Linked DNA regions of Homo sapiens: region 2 is linked to region 1. Evidence: promoter capture Hi-C in 16 types of primary human blood cells and fetal thymus (Javierre and others, 2016). All regions are on one chromosome and are shown on one strand. Each heading gives the region's core, a stretch centred on a gene start or on the middle of the fragment in contact. The rest is flanking DNA. Distances are from core to core; before and after follow the strand shown. Region 1 holds the start of DOCK4-AS1 (DOCK4 antisense RNA 1). Region 2 overlaps ZNF277 (zinc finger protein 277).

The links. The method cuts DNA at HindIII sites, captures the fragments that hold promoters and counts their contacts. A CHiCAGO score of 5 or more calls a contact.
Region 2: a fragment that was not itself captured here is called in contact with the fragment with the promoter of DOCK4-AS1 in region 1 in 1 of 17 cell types (M0 macrophages); the score reaches 5.4 in M0 macrophages.

The regions. Positions count from the first base shown.
Region 1 is chr7:111,802,996-111,810,188 of GRCh38, reverse strand. It overlaps DOCK4-AS1 (DOCK4 antisense RNA 1), which reads right to left and starts at 1,684. Exons shown (of 2, transcript NR_103806.1): 1 at 1,576-1,684. It overlaps DOCK4 (dedicator of cytokinesis 4), which reads left to right. Exons shown (of 53, transcript NM_001363540.2): 29 at 788-888; 30 at 1,310-1,368. The HindIII fragment of the contact is 9,376 bases long and covers 1-3,407 here.
Region 2 is chr7:112,291,639-112,298,872 of GRCh38, reverse strand. It overlaps ZNF277 (zinc finger protein 277), which reads right to left. Exons shown (of 12, transcript NM_021994.3): 3 at 2,916-3,004; 4 at 2,562-2,644. Among named protein-coding and RNA genes, the nearest start is that of ZNF277-AS1, 55 kb to the left of the region's middle. The HindIII fragment of the contact is 3,328 bases long and covers 3,793-7,120 here.

The sequences.
Region 1 (7,193 bases), core at 435-2,934:
AGCCACCGCACCTGGACTGTTCTTGACTTTTATTCATTATTTTACTTAGGGTTTTATTATATTCTTTTTTATTTGTAAGAGCTATTTACGTATAACAGATACTGATTCTGTGTCATATGTCTCCTGGTTTGTTATGTCTTTAATTTTACATGGTGTCAGTGGAGAAGTGTGTTCCTTCCATTATGTCCTTTTTTTTTTTTGCTAAGTTTATTTCAGGGAACTTTATTCAGATCTCTTTCTGATTCTGTTTTTTGGTATAAGAAAACTTAAAAGATTTGCCTGGGCAGGGAATTTTTATATAATGTCTGAATTTAAAGCAATTAGCATATCTGAAGAAGTGTATGCATTTTTTACAAGTTCTACGTTAAAAGGAGTTCCAAAAATGAACTCACACAGGAATAAAGAAATCCATCTTATACCTCATCCTCTTGGAGATACTCAGACATATTACAAGAGAAACCACGCATCTGTCTTTTAGCATATACCAAAAAGCTCGTGAAACCTGGAATACAGCTTTGGAGCAATATACACCTAGATAATAATAGTACTTATTTATTTAGTTACTTCTTCACTTTAGAAAATTTTAAGCATATGTACAAGTAGAGAGAATAGTATAATGAACCCCCATGAGGTACCCATATCCAGCTTCAACTATTATCAACTCATGGTCAGTCTTACTTCAACTATACCCTCAACCACTTTTGAAGCAAATCCAAAATACTATGTCACTTCACCTGTCAATATGCTTGTAACACCATAGTATTGATATATCTTGTTCTTGTTTTAGATCTGGGATTCCTACTTTTACCTCGCAGTCATTTTTATAAACCAGTTGTGTCTGCAGTTGGAGATGTTCACACCTTCCAAGAAGAAAAAGGTGTTAGAAAAGTAAGTATCAGTGTATAATCAGGTGAGAAATGTTGCCTCTTAAAGAGTATTTAGTTCAAATGATTCATAAATCAGAATGCGCATAACTGGAAATCACACAGTGAAGAACCAGTGACCAAGGGGTCAAGAAGCAGTCTTTTCTGGATGTTTTGATATTTCAAACATGTTTGCACATTGTTTTGACCTGGCTCTTTCAGGATTCAAAATTTCTATAGATGCAAAAAATTATGAAACAGATCTCTTTTACTAAAAGGTTTACACCAGAATTTGACTTAGAGGCATCGTGACATGTATATTAAATGTCTTTAATTAAAAACTCCTTGCCTTGTAATTCAGAATGATAGATTGTATCCTAAAGACACACAAATACTTCCTTGTTCTGGAGGCATTGTATCAGGTTTGGTTTTTTGTTCTATTTCAGGTATGGTGACATGCGGGTAACAATGGGTTGTGAAATTTTCAGCATGTGGCAAAACCTAGGTAAGTGAGGAAAAGAGAAGCCACATCTACTATACAGCTCCTCGCTGTACCTTGAAGTGTACAAATGAAGAAAGGCAATTTACCAGTGACACCATGTGAAACCAAATGTCTAAATCAATAAACATCTATAGAAAGTAATTGACACTTTGGCATTGAATGAGGTTACAACAAATTCTTTAAATTGGTCTCTAAGAAAAGTCACCTTACCTTTGTGTGTTTCATTATTAATTAACGATAAATTTTATAATCTAGCATTGCTCCAACATTACACATATTTCCAGCGATGAGGCAACCTTTCAGAATTTGGAACTGTAACAACTCAAAATTTCTAGAACTCTGAGTTGAAGCTATGAATCATAATAAATTTAGGTTAAACTTCATGAAACATTGACTTGAACGTCACTACTCTTAAAAACTTGAGACCATTGTCCTATATCATAAAGAGTATAGCCAAAGGATTTTAAAAGCATCTGCAGTTGCTAAGAAACTGTTGGATCCAATTTTGTTAATCTGCTATAGCAGATAGAGTATATTATTCCAGAAAATTGATGGTACAGATCTGGTTGCATAGAAAACAGTAATATTTGGAAAACAAATTGTTTTAAAATTCATTGGCATAGGGTCCCTTTCTAGAGATTTATAAGTTATTTCATTTGGTATGTTAACTATGCAGGTTTTTAGTATTCATTTACTATTACTGCATCTTAATGCTCCTCTTTGATTTATTAAAATGATTGACCTATTTGAGTTGAATACGTAATGACCTGAAAATATCTTTTCTCTTGGGCTTATCCAAGTACAACTTGGAGATTGGAAGGATTTATTTTCTGTGAATGAAAATAGAACCATTATTGTTTTACTTCCACTCATGTTAACAGACTGATTTTTGACCAGGATCATTACAGGGTGATTTTTTTTTAATAGGGTATGTATATTCCTCAAATATACATAACAACTTGAGGGAGCCTTGGTATATATAATTAAGCCCAGTGTTCAATGCTTGCTGGTGATTTCAGAAAAAATAAAAAATAAAAAAAAATAATGAAGCTGGGAGCAATGGCTCATGCCTGTAATCCCAGCACTTTGGGAGCCTGGAGCGGGCAGATCACTTGAGGTCAGGAGTTTGAGACTAGCCTGGCCAACATGGTGAAACCCTGTCTTTACTAAAAATACAAAAATTAGCCAGGCGTGGTGGGGGGGTGCCTGTAATCTCAGCTACTTGGGAGGCTGAGGCAGGAGAATCACTTGAACCTGGGAGGTGGAGGTTGCAGTGAACCAAGATCGCTCCATTGCACTCCATCAGCCTGGGTGACAGAGTGAGACTCTGACTCAAAAAAAAAAAAAAAAGAGTTATCATCTTGAAAACAACCTTCAACTATGTAAGGCCAGCCAGAAGATATCATGGTCTGTCTTTAGTTGCAGCTCAAAAATAGTTTTCTTATTTGGAGACTGCTCTTCTTAGTCTTCAGTGTTTTCAGGTTTCATTGATTCTTTGTGTCCTTGTTTTTCCTAAAGAAGATCAAGGCCCTTGTAGTGTCCATATTGCATTCGACATTAATTTAGCAAGATGTTTTTGAAAGAATGCTGCATTGAATCTGTTTGAATGCACTTGTGGTTGTGTAAGCTCTTTTCTGGGCTCAAATTATGAGAGCAGGACAGATTCTGTTCGGTTACAAGAATGTTAAAAAAGAATGACCAGTTTCTGTTCTAGATACATCTCAGCATTGCCATCTATGGTTATTTCCACATAAACCTGTATCCAAACCATAATAGCTATGCATTTAGGCCCATGACCCTTGGGCTGCTAAATAAAGCTGTCACATGTAATCTCCCTAAACATGTCACTGTATACTTCATAAACTTTTATCCTGTATTTTGTCTTTCTTCTAAAATGAAACTATTTCTGCCTCTCTGGTTTTTATGTTAAATTGCTTCTCTGTTTTTCTCAGAGATCTAGAGAATATGGAAAATTTCTGGAGCATATCAATACCTATAATGCAGTATTTTGTTATACTGTAGCATCAGCATCCTTGGAAGCTTGTAAGAAATGCAAAATCTCTCACTCCACCTTAGACCTACTGAAACACAATCTCTGGGATTGGGGCACAGCAGTCTGTTTTAGCAAGTTTTCCAGGTGATTCTTATGTACTTAGCTAAAAACTGAAAAGCACTGCTTTAGTTTATCCTCTTTCTTTGTTGTTACAGCCATAAAGACTTAGCTCTAGCACAATCCTAAGACGCTGTTAGAAAAGGCTCCTCCTTTATACTCAACTTACAGATTCCCAGCATGACGTGGTTCAAGCGTAGGGTCAGCGTAAATTTTTACTTCATTCCTTGGTTGCTGCATTATTTCCCAAGAGTTGTGTCTAGACTTTGCAAAGACTTCCCAAATATTAGGTGAATTTTAAAGTTTGTTGCTGTTGTGCAATAGCTAGAATTGGAAAAAATTCAGAAATGTTAAAGCCTCTCTTCCAACATATATTTTTATAAAATGAGGAGAAGAATAATTAAGTATTCAGAGTGACATTTTGATACCCCTTATAGGCCTTAAGTCAGCTTGTTACTTAGGAATATCAAAGTACATTAGTTATCATTTGGTTTACTTATAAATATGTCATGTTGAGAATTTGAATGCTGTAAGAGAATTTATTCAGGTAATTATAAATTTGCCATGTTTTAATGTAACAGTCCAGTAAATTCAATTTGACTAAGTTTATGAAGCACTGGATATATGCAAGTATTTTGGAGGACATAAGAAAAAATGGTCCACACCTATTAAAATCTTAGTTTTCAAATCTTATATTTTAAAATTTTGTCCAATTTAGTTTGAACTATGACAAAGCTTGACAAAGACAACATCATCATGTTTTAGTAAAGCTAGTAAGCTTTTATGATTTCATAAATCAAGATCCTCAATATTTTTAATAGATACAAAATGCACTAACTTTTAGAAAATAAGATGAAGGGAGGAAATGCCCAAGGCCACTTAATATACTTTTTTCCACTTGAAACTGTCTAGTTGGTCTAATTTAGAAATACACATTTTGCTGGATAATACTTTTAAATCAGATTTGGTCATTGATGTTTACCTCTGAAGTGTTGAAATTCTTCCATATGCTAGAAACATGTTGTTTTTTTCCATTCCACTGAGGACACGGAGGGGAAAGACACATGTAATTCAGTGACTTGTCTGCTTTTAAACTTAAAGCTGTAGGATTTTAAAATCTGATCATTATATCCCTTAGCAACCTGTGAGCAATTTTTCAACCCTATGAGACCTAGAACTGCTTATGTTTACAGTGTTATTTTTAACCATAAATCATCTAACAGACATTTAGTTGTGTGTGCTTGAAATATTTTATAATTCTAAAATTACATAACAACTTGTCTGTAGTATTAAATGTGCTTTTATAATGATTATTTACATTAAGAAAGTTTAACCTTTGTTCTGAATTAGTAAATATTTGGATCCTTTAGTACATTTGTAGTTCACACAACTGGAGGAAGCGAGTTCTAACTTCTCTTCTGCTGTCGCCTCAGTCTTGGAGTTTTTGCAAGCAGGGCCATGAGCACCCATTTTTATGTCTACAGGAATGAATCCGTGGCTCTGCTAGTTCATGCTTCAGCCCTAGTTCTATGAGGTCTGGTTGGGAACATAGAAATAAAATCAAAAGGTTTTGTTGTCCAAAGACAACAAATAGTCCTCCACAGGTCAACAAGGCAGGGCTTCTCTTCTTCCCTTGTGAGACAGCAGTAGATCCTGGGGACAGAAAGGCTTTGAGCTCTTGCCTGGAACTTTAAGTCATGCTACCTGTCTCCAGTGCATACAGAGCACTGAACACATCATCCTGCTCATATAATTAAAATTTAGTTTTAAAACATTTTTTAATTGTGGTAAAATACAAATAAAATGTACATCTTGGTTGGGTGCAGTGGCTGACACCTGTAATCCCAGCATTTTGGGAGGCTGAGGTGGGTGGATCACGTGAGGTCAGGAGTTCGAGACCAGCCTGGCAAACATGACGAAACCCCGTCTCTGCTAAAAATATAAAAATTAGCTGGGTGTGGTGGCATATGCCTGTAATCCTAGCTACTTGGAAGGCAGAGGCAGGAGAATTGCTTGAATCTGGGAGGCAGAGGTTGCAGTGAGCCAAGATCGCGCCATTGCACTCCAGCATGGGGGACAGAGCGAGACTCTGTCTCAAAAAAAAAATAAAAATAAATATAAATAAATGTGCATTCTAACTATTTTTCAGGCCACAGCTCAGTGATATTAAGTATATTCACATTGCAATGCAACCATCACCACCATCCATCTCTAGAACTCTTTTCATCTTGTGAAGCTGAAACTCTATACCCAATAAACAATAACTTCTCATTCCCCTGTCTCCCCAGCCCCTGGTACTACCATTCTACTTTCTGTCTCTATGAATTTAACTACTCTAGGTACCTCACGTAAGTGGAATCATACAGAATTTATCTTTTTGTAACTGGCTTATTTTGCTTAACAGATTGTCCTCAAGATTCATTCATGTTGTAATGTATCAAAATTTTCCTTTTTAAGGCTGAATAATATTCTGTCGTATGGATATACCACATTTTCTTTATTCATTCATTCCTCAGTGGACATTTGGGTTGCTTCTGCCTTTTGTCTATTGTGAATAGTGCTGCTCTGAACGTGGGCATATAAAATATCTCTGAGAATCTGGCTTTCAGTTCTTTTGGGTACATAGCCAGAAGTGGAATTGCTGGATCATATGGGAATTCTATTGTTAATTTTTTGAGGAACTGTTCTCCACAGCTGCTGTAACATTTTACATTCTCACCAACAGAACACACACATTCTAGTTTCTCCATTTTCTCTCCAGCATTTGTTATTTCCTGGTTTTTTGACAGTAGTCATCCTAATGGGTGTGAGGTGGTATCTCATTTGCAGTTTTGGTAAAATAATGTATTTTTAGAGCATAAAAGCCAACTAGTGATAAGTAAACACCTTTTCTTAAATATGGTATTCCTCAGCGTTTTCATTTTCTAAGTTGAAGGACTAAAAAATGTTCTATCAAGAGCCGTGGCAGAGGAAGGCATATATTTTCCCCCAAAACTTTACCCGTCTGTACCCCTACTTGCAAGAACAGAGAAAAAGGTTAGTCTTTACTAGAATGTTCCAGTGTTGGCTTTTATCTTTCTTCAAGGTTAAGTTTTTCTTTCTATTTTTAGATGAACTAACATTCTTACTAAATATAAAGTGAGCTCTTTGTTCCACATTTGCAAACACAGTGTCTTGTAACTGCTGTAGAAAAAAAAATCAATACTTCCCTAGCAGGCTGTTCTGTGTGCATAAATATAAAACTCCAACAGTCCAAGTAGCAGGTGCCCTAAATACTTCAAAATAAGACCATGTGGCCAACAATTAGAGGTAGAGAAAGTATACTAAATCTATGGTTTAAAAAGAAATCATTTAAATGAAGTTTATTTTGCTGTTGCCATACATAGCTCAAAATTGCTTTGCTGGTTCTGTAGGAATTAAATTTTCTGTGGTTGGAGAGCCTGTTCAGGTTTGCAGATTCCGTGTTCCCAAAGTATGTTTTCAGCAAATAAGCTATTCTCATGCATTCCTGCACAATGACTTAAATGTAGGTGTGGCTTCTCTGACCTTCTTAACTGTCAATGGAAAAAATCAGGCTGCAGAATGTAGTATATGGACCTTGTTTGAATTGTGATTGAAAGAAACCAGCTATACATGACATGTTTTAAGACCATCAAAGGAAATTTTAATATAGGCTGGGTTTTTAATTAATTTAAGGAATTTTTATTTCTTTTTTAGG
Region 2 (7,234 bases), core at 4,207-6,706, 480 kb before region 1:
TACCTGGAATGTTTGGTTTGAAACTCTAGCTCTGCACCTCATTCACTATGTGTTCCTGGGCAAATTAAGCTTCCTAGGCCACATTTTACTCATAAATAGAACGGCATTTAATAGCCACCTCACAGGGTGCTATGAAGCAAGAACCAAATACAAGGCATGGCTTATGGATGGTCATCAGTCATTGTTAGCTTACTTCCAATCCCCAAGTTGGTCTAGTCTTTCTCAGGCTTTGACAGCTTGAAATGGATTTATACGCAGCTACATTTACTCTTTTCTTCATGTCACTGATGGACAATGAGGGCACATTAATGGGTCTTTATTACTACAAAGTCAAGTTTCTGGCACTGAAGGATTTCCACAATTTAGCTCCATTTTACCTCTTCAAATTTATCTCATACTCCTCCCCATAAAAATTTTTCTATCTAAGCCGGAGTAGACTTTTACTCGATTTTCCTGAATACACCTTGAACATTTAGATGCATATGTATCTTTCTTCCCTTCCCTACAACTCTCTTAACTATCCAAATCCTTCTCATTGTTAAGACACAGCATTATTACTGTTATTTTTATTGGCTAATATTTATTAAGTGCCTTCTATGTGCCAGGTAGTGTTCTAAGTATATTACATGTCACTTAATCTTCATAAGCCCTGCAAGATATTTTATCATTATCTCTATTACCAAGATAAGAATACATATTTATCTTTCTTCTCTAAGTAGACCGTACACTCTTGTATGATATGGATTATGCCTTGTACTCTTGTACTTCTTTGTATAGGCATCTACTTAAGCAGAAATTCAACGAGCATGTATGGATTGATTGCCTTTTCATTCTTCTTTTGTTTCTGTAAGCTGGCATAATGCTCACTTCCATTAAATGTATCACTATCAAACTGTAAAGTAAAAAAGGTAACTTAAATGCAGTATATGTAGGTATTTTTAGAGACCTGAGTCCATCTGCAGACACATCGTACAGATTCTGCATGCTAAAGAACAAGAATGGCTGAAGTAGTAGGGTTTGAGTTCTTATAAATAAATCCTTAGGACTACTAGGATCATGACATCTTTTGATCATTCTTAAGGCCACTGTTAGCAACAGTGAGAAAATTCATGTAAATTGGAAATTATGAATAAGTGCACGCAAATAACATCCATAAGACATGATAGTAAATTTAGCCTTGTTTTGCAGATTTCATAAGACACTGCTATAAGGAGAGAAGAGAAACTCAGGAAGTCCTATTTCTTTACTGCAGTTGTTGTACAGGAAAACTTTTCTTAGATATAAATCAACATCCAATGGTATCACCTTCCCCTACTGGAAGAAATAATCATTTGGGATGTCTACAAAATAAAATATGCTTCCAGGGACTTTCTTAAATTATATGACTATGGTAAATAGCATTTATTTTTCTCCTTGATCTCTTGAGGATATAGCACAAATATTTAAATCATTTCTCTCTCTTATAACATATTTAGCTAAGTCCAAAGATAAAAGAAAGACTTACAAGAAATCACTAAAGGAACAGCAAGTCAACTTCAAGTAATAGTCGAGATTAAATCACAAATAATGGGAACCCATGTACTTTTAAACAAAAGTAACAATTTAAAAAATTACTTTCTGATTAACTTACGAAAATAAAAATTTTCAGCCGGGTGCAGTGGCTCCCGCCTGTAATCTCAGCACTTTGGGAGACTGAGGTGGGCAGATCATGAGGTCAGGAGATCGAGACCATCCTTGCTAATACGGTGAAACCCCATCTCTACTAAAAATACAAAAAATTAGCCAGGTGTGGTGGCAGGTGCCTGTAGTCCCAGCTACTCGGGAGGCTGAGGCAGGAGAATGGTGTGAGCCCAGGAGGTGGAGCTTGCAGTGAGCTGAGATCACACCACTGCACTCCAGCCTGGGCAACAGAGCGAGACTCCATCTCAAAAAAAAAAAAAAAAAAAAAAAAAAAAAAAAATAAATAAATAAATAAATAAATAAAATAAAAATAAGAAAATAAAATAAAATAAAAATTTTCATGCTTGTATGTGCTGTTATCTTTTTTAAAGGCTAAAGATGCTGAGGTTTTCAAATTAGCTTGCTTATGGTTAAGCCTGAAAACCAGAAAGGCTACTATGTAGATTAAACCATATGCTTAATTCATAAAGGGAAATAAAAAAAATGCTAGTGCATAGCACATTCCAGTAAAGGGGAGAAAAAAAGGTTAATCAATTCAACTCAATTTTAGCTGAGGGCATTTTTCCATGACTACTGAACCCTAGCATGTGTCAGGCAGCTAAAATTACACTAAAATGTGTAAGTTCTGTTGTTATTTTAGAGATAATCCAGGAAGCAAAACAAAGCCAAAAATTCTCTCTGCATTTTTAACATAAAACGCTTTAATTTTCAGTCAAGTGTATACTTTTTTTTTGTTTTAAGACCTTTTTGTATTGTCTCCTCTTTTACATATGTTTGAAAGTTTCCATAACAAAAAGTAAAAAAAAAAAAAACCAATATGATTTTATATGTATTTATATGTATTTTCAAGACACTATTCACCCTTTAAAAACAATTCTTACCAGTCTCTGTTTCTGAAGCTCTTCTCTAAGAATTCTATCTTCTGGTAAAACGTCACATAACAAAAAATAATTCTCTTGTTCTTCTGTTGAGAGATTAGGAAAACAAATAAGAAAACAGATATTAACCATTTTTTCCCCAGAAGGACTTATTTCTTAAAAAATACAGATGTGTGTGTCTATTAGGATCTCTTTGGCATAGAACTGTTTTAGCTTTATTCAAGTTAGGCAAAATAAACACATCAATTTAATTTTATCTATCATGAAAGTAAAAGTAATTCTAATATAAGACAGTAAGATTATTCCTTTGAATTTTTATACTGTAGGGAAAAGATGGTAGCCAAGATGTACACTTACCAAATGGAGCAGTGGAATTAATTCTTATTACACTACAAAAATCTGTGATGGGCTGTTCAGTGAACCTTTTCCTCCAATATAAAATGTACCTTAGAACAACATAAAATAAGGAACGATGAGAAGATTCAATATACTATTTGCTTTAGAATGACAGGAATCTATAAGCACATTCACTCATCCCAAAGCAACAAATCAAATGTTAACTTAAAACTGCTTTTCTAGCAGTTTTTTGTGAATACAAAGGCAGTGGAGCATTATAGAAGTATCAAATAAAGATTTAATAAAAAGGAATTACCATGTAAGGGCATGAAAATGACTAAACTCTACTATCCCCAAATTCAATAAACAGACATATAGGAAAGTTAAAATGAATTATTTTTATGTGATAATGAATTTTTCTGAAATAACACCTAAGTTTATGTGTCTTTAAAATACAATAACGATTAAATAGGCTATGACACACTCTGCAGTAAAGAGAAAACTAAGTGGTTATCTTATGTATCAAAAGAACAGAGGTCAGAAGAATAATGCAATGAGAAATCAGTCTAAATTCAATATCAATATAACAAGACAGAAAAATTCCATATGTCTACACTGAGTCTGAAATGAGGCAAATTTAGACTTTGGAAAAATAGCCTAACTTACAATTCTTGTATCTAATGAGCAGAGTTAGAAGCAACACACCAGCTAAATTAAAAACCAAAGCCTAACACCCAGACCTACATATGTGATGAAAGAGGGAGTAAGATGACAGGATTTAACAAGTGGTTTATCTTTCCATTTATCTAACAAGATTTATATTGGCAACTGCAATCTCATTTATTGAATGGTACCAAGAAGAGAGTGTTATCTTCATAGAGAGAGGAAAAGGAAAGCTTGATTCTATAGCTCCCAATTTATCAGGCCACACAACTGAGGGACAAAACAAGTAACTTACACCAAAGAACCAAAAAAAGAAATGGGACTTATTGAAATAGATGAAGAATATAGAAAGAGTAGAAATTTGGACATTTTAAATGGCTTGACTTAGCACATCTAGGAATGTTTTGGATATATTAGGTCCACAGTAAATGTTTTAAAGAAGTAGAGAATTTGAAGATTCCTGTAAAGTTCTCTAAGTAGTCCCCAATTCCCAATATTTTGTCTCCTTTTTATTATTAATTTTTTTCTTAACATTAATTTTCCAATACCATGGTGCTCTATGGAAAGGGCATTTGTGTATTAGAAGTCTGTGCTGGAGAGAGGTCTGGGAGAAAGAGATAAACATGACACGAGCTGACATCAAATAAAAATACACTGAATGAATATAGAATATGTAAGAAAAAGAAGCCAATGAATAGTGTATAAAAATAGAATCCCATGTTTAAGTTTTTCTTCTCCTGTACAACCACACTGTTAACTTTGATGGGTAAGTAAGGGGAGAACCCTTTCCTTATAAAACAGTGCTAACTTGTATTCTAGGAGATCTTAAAATGGCAATCTTAAGCTCCCATTGAGCCTTAAACCACAAATATATAAATGATGCACCCTACTCCTTGGCTAACTCACTGGCTTCCATATTAGAAATCTCAGAAGAAGGCAAGTGCATATTGGATCCATCACAGCAGATAAATAGAGAAAAAGTACCTACAAAAGGCTGGGACATTATTTCCTTAGCCATCCTGGGCCAGCTTCAACACGTTGTACTCCTCAGTCTCCTACATGGCTACTCCTAGTCTCTATCTTTCCATTCCTCACTAGTTGCTTTCCCCACCACCCCATGGTAGAGAGGAAAAAAGGGGAAAGAGAAGACAAGAGGAGGCTTAAGAGAATAAAAATGACATTCCTAGTCCTTTTCTTATTCTCCCCCAAGCACATTTTCTATTACAAAGTGGTGACAGGGATGAAGGAACACAGTAGAACCTGTATTAGAGATGTTAGAACAGAAGATGGATTATTCCTCTAAATTGAAATATAGACATCTATTTTCATGATTAATCAAATTTATACATGGCAGAACCAGGTGCTAAGATAACTGACTTCAAAAGACAGGAAGGCCAAGTTCCCTCTGGAGGTTCCCTACTGCTACTGCTAGAATACACCAAGGAGTGGATCGTCAGTCCTGGTTGCCACTCCATTGAGGACTATCTGGATGGTATCCTCTAGACAAAACGGAGACTAGTGGTCAGCCCTATATAATTAGTTCCATTTTGGGTCTAGAGCCTGTTGAAAGGCAGTGATAACTCCTTGAATACACAGACTACTTTACTTTGGAAAATGTTCACAGTCTTAGAAAAGTATCTGTGTGAAACCATGTGGAACAGATGACCAGGCAAGAGCTTGGATCCTCGTGAACAGACTGCTCTTTGAATTATTAATGACTTTTTTTTTTTTTTTTTGAGATAAGATCTGGCTCTATTGCCCAGGCTGGAGTGCAGTGGAGTGATCTCAGCTCTCTGCAACCTCTGCCTCCTGGGCTGAAGACATCCTCCCCACCTCAGCCTCCCGAGTAGCTGGGACTATAGGCACGCACCACCATGCCCAACTAATTTTCCTATTTTTTTTGTAGAGATGGGGTTTTGCCATGTTGCCCAGGCTAGTCTTGAACTTGTGAGCTCAAGCAATCTGCCCGTCTTGGACTCCCAAAGTGCTGGGATTACAGGTGAGAGCCACTGTGCCTGGCCAATGACTTTTTTTTAAATGGACAATCAATATTGTCCCTTGCTTATCTGCACAGATCTTATGCTAGAAGCAGTTTTGCTTTTTAAATTAAGACAGTGGTCAAAGTATCATAGTTAATGTATTAATTACCACCCCGGAGGCAATGGTGAATAGAGAAGCAAGGACTTTGAATTCAAAGGTATGAACCTGAACTTAAAGTTATTTAATCTTTCTGAAACTCAGTTTATTCATGTGCAAAATAAATTGTTGATAATTAAATAGAATAATGCATGTAAAGCACGCTGTCCAAAATTCTGGGTGTTTAATATATATGACAGTTATTACTATAAGAAAAAGTAACATATTTAAATAAGACTAAGGTAGTGAATAATTTATATTTATCCCAGGGAAATAATGAGACACACAACAAAAACAACAACAACATTTCAGCAAACATTTGATGAAAAAGACAAAATAGTTATATTAATAGCGTCAGAGGGCACATATAGGTGGCTAAAGTGGTAGAAGAGAAGAATGATGATAGTGACAATAATGACAATTATTAGCAGCTACCATTTAATGAGTCCTTACTTGCCCAAGGTCAATTAAAATGTTAGAATTGAGATGTGAACTTTGTCTCTCTGGCTCCAAGGCCAAACTCAATCTTCTACAACACAGTTCCTCTAGTGTCATGTGGGGACGAATCGGTACAAGAAATGCAGAAAAGGGAAGGCAGGGACAGGAAAGAGCCCCTATAATTAAAGTTGTAATAGAGAGTTGAAGCATTTTTTTCCCCTCAGAGACCAATGAGGTCACATAGAATGCTTTTTGACAAGGCAGAACCAGAAGTACAGAAATGAAGTCTGAAGAGGAAGAGAATGTTTTCCCCTTCCGAAAGGCATACTACTTAACAGTAGCCCTCAGTCTGAACTGCTCCTAAGTTGCTACCTAAGGGCTGAAAATTGACACCAACTGTTTGGGGCTGTTTTGGAACTGCTTAACTAGGCAAGGAAAGGGTGCAGAGAAGTTCCACTACAGAGGTAACAGGAGCCTGATTCCAATAGTCAGTGGGTCTCAGTTTCCAAAAACTTCTATGTTTGAGTACTGTCTCTTTGATGTCTGAAGAGAAGAATCACATGACATGCTTACTTTCCATCAGAGTTTACTTCAAGGTGATATGCACATGGGAAGAAATTACTGACATCAATTAACTTAGAATCATGGGGAGATTCTGCCTGGCAGAACCTCGGTTGCCCTCCTCAAATAGGAAGTGTTTCCCATGGGATAAAGCAGGTAATAGGTTGGTCCAAGAGGAACAAAGTTGTCATTTGAGTGTTCTCTTCCTAACCAAAACTTGGGTGACAACAACATCAAAGAAAAAAAAATCATCTGTTACAAAGCAAAATATAACCATAAACCATCATACAACTTAAACATATAAAATTAGGCATCATATCTTACTGTGGTATACTATAGACAACAACAACAACATACATTTGACCTATGTCTAAATTTGAGTAAAGAAACATCCTAGTTATTAAACACATAATAGTGGTTTTTAAGCTTATAATTAAGAGGTGTCAATATATACATTTCCTTTCGGATGGTATGGGCATTCAGATAAATTGTAATCAACTGAGTGATAGAATAAAGATAGCAGATCTTCAGTACATGCTTCT